Regions from separate parts of the Homo sapiens genome. Here region 2 is linked to region 1. The links are contacts of gene promoters, found by promoter capture Hi-C in human tissues and cell types (Jung and others, 2019). All regions are on one chromosome and are shown on one strand. Each heading gives the region's core, a stretch centred on a gene start or on the middle of the fragment in contact. The rest is flanking DNA. Distances are from core to core; before and after follow the strand shown. Region 1 holds the start of MEI1 (meiotic double-stranded break formation protein 1). Region 2 overlaps MEI1 (meiotic double-stranded break formation protein 1).

The links. The method cuts DNA at HindIII sites, captures the fragments that hold promoters and counts their contacts. A contact is called where the count stands out against the background at its distance.
Region 2: a fragment that was not itself captured here is called in contact with the fragment with the promoter of MEI1 in region 1 in 5 of the 25 tissues and cell types used here (dorsolateral prefrontal cortex, lymphoblastoid cells, mesenchymal stem cells and 2 more).

What each region holds. Positions count from the first base shown.
Region 1 is chr22:41,698,240-41,700,759 of GRCh38, reverse strand. It overlaps MEI1 (meiotic double-stranded break formation protein 1), which reads right to left and starts at 1,257. Exons shown (of 31, transcript NM_152513.4): 1 at 1,048-1,257. The coding sequence starts at 1,221. RefSeq lists a silencer at 1,185-1,284. The HindIII fragment of the contact is 9,130 bases long and covers 1-2,369 here.
Region 2 is chr22:41,755,986-41,758,505 of GRCh38, reverse strand. MEI1 (meiotic double-stranded break formation protein 1) reads right to left here. Exons shown (of 31, transcript NM_152513.4): 18 at 1-141. Among named protein-coding and RNA genes, the nearest start is that of CCDC134, 43 kb to the left of the region's middle. The HindIII fragment of the contact is 4,539 bases long and covers 1-2,520 here.

The DNA.
Region 1 (2,520 bases), core at 8-2,507:
AAAAAAAAAATTGAGAACTGCTGATCTAGCCAATCCACCCACTCACGAATTCCCCTCCCATGAATTGGAGAGAAACTTGACCTCCCAAAGTCTTCTTGGATGCCTCCATGGACAAGAAAACTCACTGCAGGTCGGGCACCGTGGCTCACGCCTATAATCCCAGCACTATGGGAAGCCGAGGCGGGTGGATCACCTGAGGTCAAGAGTTCGAGACCAGCCTGGCCAACATGATGAAACTCCGTCTCTACTAAAAATAGAGAAATTAGCCGAGCGTGGTGGCGGGAGCCTGTAATCCCAGCTACTGGGTAGGTTGAGGCAGGAGAATCGCTTGAACCCAGGAAACAGAGGTTGCAGTGAGCGGAGATGGCGCCATTGCACTCCGGCCTGGGTGTCAGAGCGAGACTCCGTCTCGAAACAAACAAAACCACTTCATTGCAAACGCGGTAGGCAATGAGGACCCAGGCAGCCCGCTTTGGCCAGCTCTGCCCAAGGAACAGTCTTCCCGTTCACCCCCACTTCTGCCCGGCTGTAACCTGTCACTCCTGTCCCCTCGGAGCCCAGACTGCCCCTCCTCCGATTCACACCCCGACAGCTGAAGGGAATGAGGAGCGGCCGCCGCATGCGCCCCTGGCCCGCAGGTGAGTGGAGGCTGAAATGGCGGGAGGCTGAAATGGCGGGAGCCTGAGCTAAGGCCGAATCCCCGGGAAATGGAGGCAGGGGCAGCAAAGGGAAGGAGCCAGAAGGCGGAAGGCGGGAAGGTGTGTCCCTGAGACTGGGTGAGGTCCCGGGGGATCCGGATTTCCGTCCTTTCAGGCGCAGAGCCAGTGGACCGGGCTCCACGGAGGCCCGCAGGCCGGCCTGGGGCTGAGGGGCCCGAGAGGCCGCTGCGGCCGGGTCCGGGACGGGCTGACAGGGAGGAGAGTGAACACAGCGCGGGGGCCCGGTTTCGCGTCGGGTTCACCGGAGCGGGTCTGGCAAGGGCCTGGCCGCGTTTGCTGAGGGAAATGGCCAAACCCAGGTCTTCTGAAGAAAAGGTTCCGCCCGCACCGACACGCCGGGGTCCGGCAGCAGCTCCAGCGCGCAGGCCAGGCACAGGCGGGGGGTCACGGGCAGCAGCCAGCGCGGGTCGTGCCGGTAATGGGCCCTCTCGAATAGAAGCGCCGCCTCTTCCTCTCTCCTGGGCCCGGGAGTGCCCGCCGTCGCCGCCTGCCTCACAGCCATCTCCTCGCTTGCCCTCAGCTGAGGCGGCACTCTTTCCCGCGCAGACTGCACGCATGCGCACTTGGAGGACGGACCTGCGTCGGTGTGGAATGCGCCTGCGCGGACCCAGGGCGCTGCAGTCTCAGACGAGCAGCAGCCACTGAGGGCAAGTGGTGGACGCAAGTGCTCTGGATCGTGTCTAGCTAAGCCAAAAGCGGTTTGTGCTTAGAACCCTGCAGGAATGTCTTTACCACATCCAAAGTTGAAAAGCAATTATAAAGTAGGGGGCATTTGCCTTGAAAAAGGAAGGAAAGGAAGCTATTTCTACTGTTTTTTAAAAATGAAGGCCGGGCATGGTGGCTCACGCCTGTAATCCCAGCACTTTGGGAAGCCGAGGTGGGCGGATCACGAGATCTGGAGATCAAGACCATCTTACCCAACATGGTGAAACCCCGTCTCTACTAAAATACAAAAAATTAGCTGGGTGTGGTGGCAAGTGCCTGTAATCCCAGCTACTTGGGAGGCTTGAGGCAGGGGAATCACTTGAACCTGGGAGGCGGAGGTTGCAGTGAGCTGAGATTGTGCCACTGCACTCCAGCCTGGCGACAGAGCAAGACTCTATCTCAAAAAAAAAAAAAAAAAGGAAAATAAGCGATCCCAAGGATTCGCATCTAAAAGCAATTAGAGGCTGGGTGAGTTGGCTCATGCCTGTAATCACAGCACTTTGGGAGGGAGGCTGAGGCAGGAGAATCACTTGAACCTGGGAGGTGGAGGTTGCAGTGAGCCAAGATCGCACCACTGCACTCCAGCCTGGGTGACAGAGGAAGACTCCATCTTAAAAATAAATAAATAAATCAGAAGCTTAAGACCAAAAAATAAAAGTAAAAAAACAAAACAAAACACCAAAGACAGAGAGAAAGAAGTTCAAGACCAGCCTGAGCAACAGGGCGAAACCCCTCCTCTACTAAAAATACAAAAATTAGCTGGGTGTGGTGGCTCATGACTGTAATCCCAGCTACTCGGGAGGCTGAGGCAGCAGAATCGCTTGAACCCAGGAGGCGGAGGTTACAGTGAGCGGAGATCAAGCCACTGAACTCCAGCTTGGGCCACAGACCTACACTCCATCTCAAAAAAAAAAAAAAAAGCGTCCCATGCAGAGGACCACCCCTCCCCATAAGCAGCTGAGGCTTTTGGAGTGTCCTGCCTCAATCAGGATTAGCTTGGAGACAGAGCAGGATAGAACCTCAGTGGACTCCACTGTGAGGAGCTGGGGGGCAGGTGTTTCGGAGAGGACACTGGGTTGACCCACATTCCCTAAAC
Region 2 (2,520 bases), core at 14-2,513, 58 kb before region 1:
AGAGGAGCAGGATGCAGTACTGTCTCTGGCGAGCAGCTCCCTCCATGTACTGGCGATCAGACAGGAAGGCAAGGCTTTCAGGGCTCCTGCTGCTTATCTGGGGCAGCCCATGCTGCAGGAGCTCAGACACTGCAGAGAGTTCTAGGGAGGGAATAAGTAGAGGAAAGCCACACAGAGAACATAGAAGAACAGGTAATCAGCACATTAGTACCTACTACATGCAGAGTACTGCACAGGGCAGCAAGGGTAAATGCAGTATAGTGGGAAATAAGGAAATCAGAGGCTCCTCTTCCTTTGAGCAAGGTTCAACCTACCGGGAAAGACTAAACTTCACAAGCAGAAGGACATGGATATGTCTCAAAAATTAACGTTCATTCCTTTTTTGTTTTGTTTTTCTTTTGACAGAGTCTCGCTCTGTTGCCCATGCTGGAGTGCAATGGCATGATCTCGGCTCACTGCAACCTCCCCGTTCTGGGTTCAAGCAATTCTCCTGCCTCAGCCTCCCAAGTAGCTGTGATTACAGGCACCCACCACCACGCCCAGCTAATTTTTTGTATTTTTAGTAGAGGCAGGGTTTTGCCATGTTGGCCAGGCTGGTCTCAAACTCCTGACCTCAGGTGATTCACCCACCTTGGCCTCCCAAAAACATTCATTCTTTCATTCATTTGACATATGTTCATTGAGTGGCTACTACTCAGGACAGGCTGTGAGACCCAGGCCCTACCTCCAGGAACTGGCAGCTGATGGGAAGAGACACATAATGAGACAGGCAATTGCAGGACATGTGATCAGCGCTATATTGAGGAGGGAGTGACTCAGGCTGCCTGGCATGGGGAAGGAAAGGTCAAAGAGGAAGAAACTGTGGGCCAGGCTGTAATCCCAGCACTTTGGGAGGCTGAGGAGGGTATATCACCTGAGGTCAGGAGTTCAAGACCAGCTTGGCCAACATAGTGAAACCCCGTCCCTACAAAAATACAAAAATTAGCCGGCTATGATGGCGGGCGCCTGTAATCCCAGCTACTTGGGAGGCTGAGGTGGGAGAATCGCTTGAACCTGGGAGGCAGAGGTTGCAGTGAGCTGAGATGGCACCATTGCACTCCAGCCTGAATGACAAGCGCGAAACTCCATCTCAGAAAAAAGAAAGCAAGCTTTGGGAGGCCGAGGCTGGCGGATCACGAGGTCACGAGATCAAGACCATCCTGGCTAACACGGTGAAAACCCGTCTCTACTAAAAATACAAAAAAATAGCCAGGCGAGGTGGCGGGCCCCTGTAGTCCCAGCTACTTGGGAGGCTGAGGCAGGAGAATGGCGTGAACCCAGAAGGCGGAGCCTGCAGTGAGCCGAGATCATGTCACTGCACTCCAGCATGGGCGACAGAGCGAGACTCCGTCTCAAAAAAAGAAAGAAAGAAAGAAACAAACTGTGGAGGGTGAGGAGAAAAGAGGCAGCGACAGGAGAAAAGAGAAAAGGAAGCAAGGTGTTCAGAGGCCTGAAGGCATGAGAAGACATGCCATGTTTCCATTCAGTGTCACTGGATAGTCAGTGAATAGATGTGGGGTGTCAGAAGCTGGGGAACTATGTGATGTAATCTGCAGTTGGACTGTGAAAGACCTTTAAGCAAATGCCACTTAAGGAATTGGGACTTCATCCTGAGGGCAGAGACTTCTAGATTTCTTACGAAAACGGTTTCATAAAAGAAAGAATATTTTAATACCAAAAGAACAGGAAAGAAGGATAGGCGTGGTGGCTCAAGCCGGTAATGCCAGCACTTTGGGAAACCAAGGCAGGTGGATCACCTGAGGTCAGGAGTTCGAGACCAGCCTGGCCAACATGGCAAAACCCTGTCTCTATTAAAAATACAAAAATTAGACAAGCGTGGTGGCAAGTGCCTGTAGTCCTAGCTACTCAGGAAGCTGACGCAGGAGAATTGCTTGAACCCGGGAGGTGGAGGTTGCAATGAGCCGAGATCACGCCACTGCACTCCAGCCTGGGCAACAGAACAAGACGCTGTCCCAAAACAAAAAAAAAGGAAAGAAAAAGACTGACTTCAGAGTTTAAAATTTGAATAAAGGCCAGGTGCGGTGGCTCACACCTGTAATCCTAGCACTTTGGAGTCCAAGGCAGGTAGATTGTTTGAGGCCAGGAGTTCAAGACCAGCCTGGCCAACATGGCAAAACCCCATCTCTACTAAAAATACAAAAAAATCACCTGGGCATGGTGACATATGCTTGTAGTCCCAGCTATTCGTGAGGCTGAGACACAAGAATCACTTGAATCTGGGAGGTGGAGGTTGCAGTGAGCTGACATCACTCAACTCCAGCCTGGGCAACAGACTGAGACTCTGCCTCAAAAAACAAAACAAACAAAAAAACCTAAATAAAGTCAACTTTATCCTTATGTTCCACATTTCACCATGGACCAGAGAAAACTTCATCACTATTTGACACTACTCCACAGACTGATGTGTGGAGACCACAGCTGAAAGCCAGGGGAGTTAAGATGTTAAGACTTTGTTTTCAG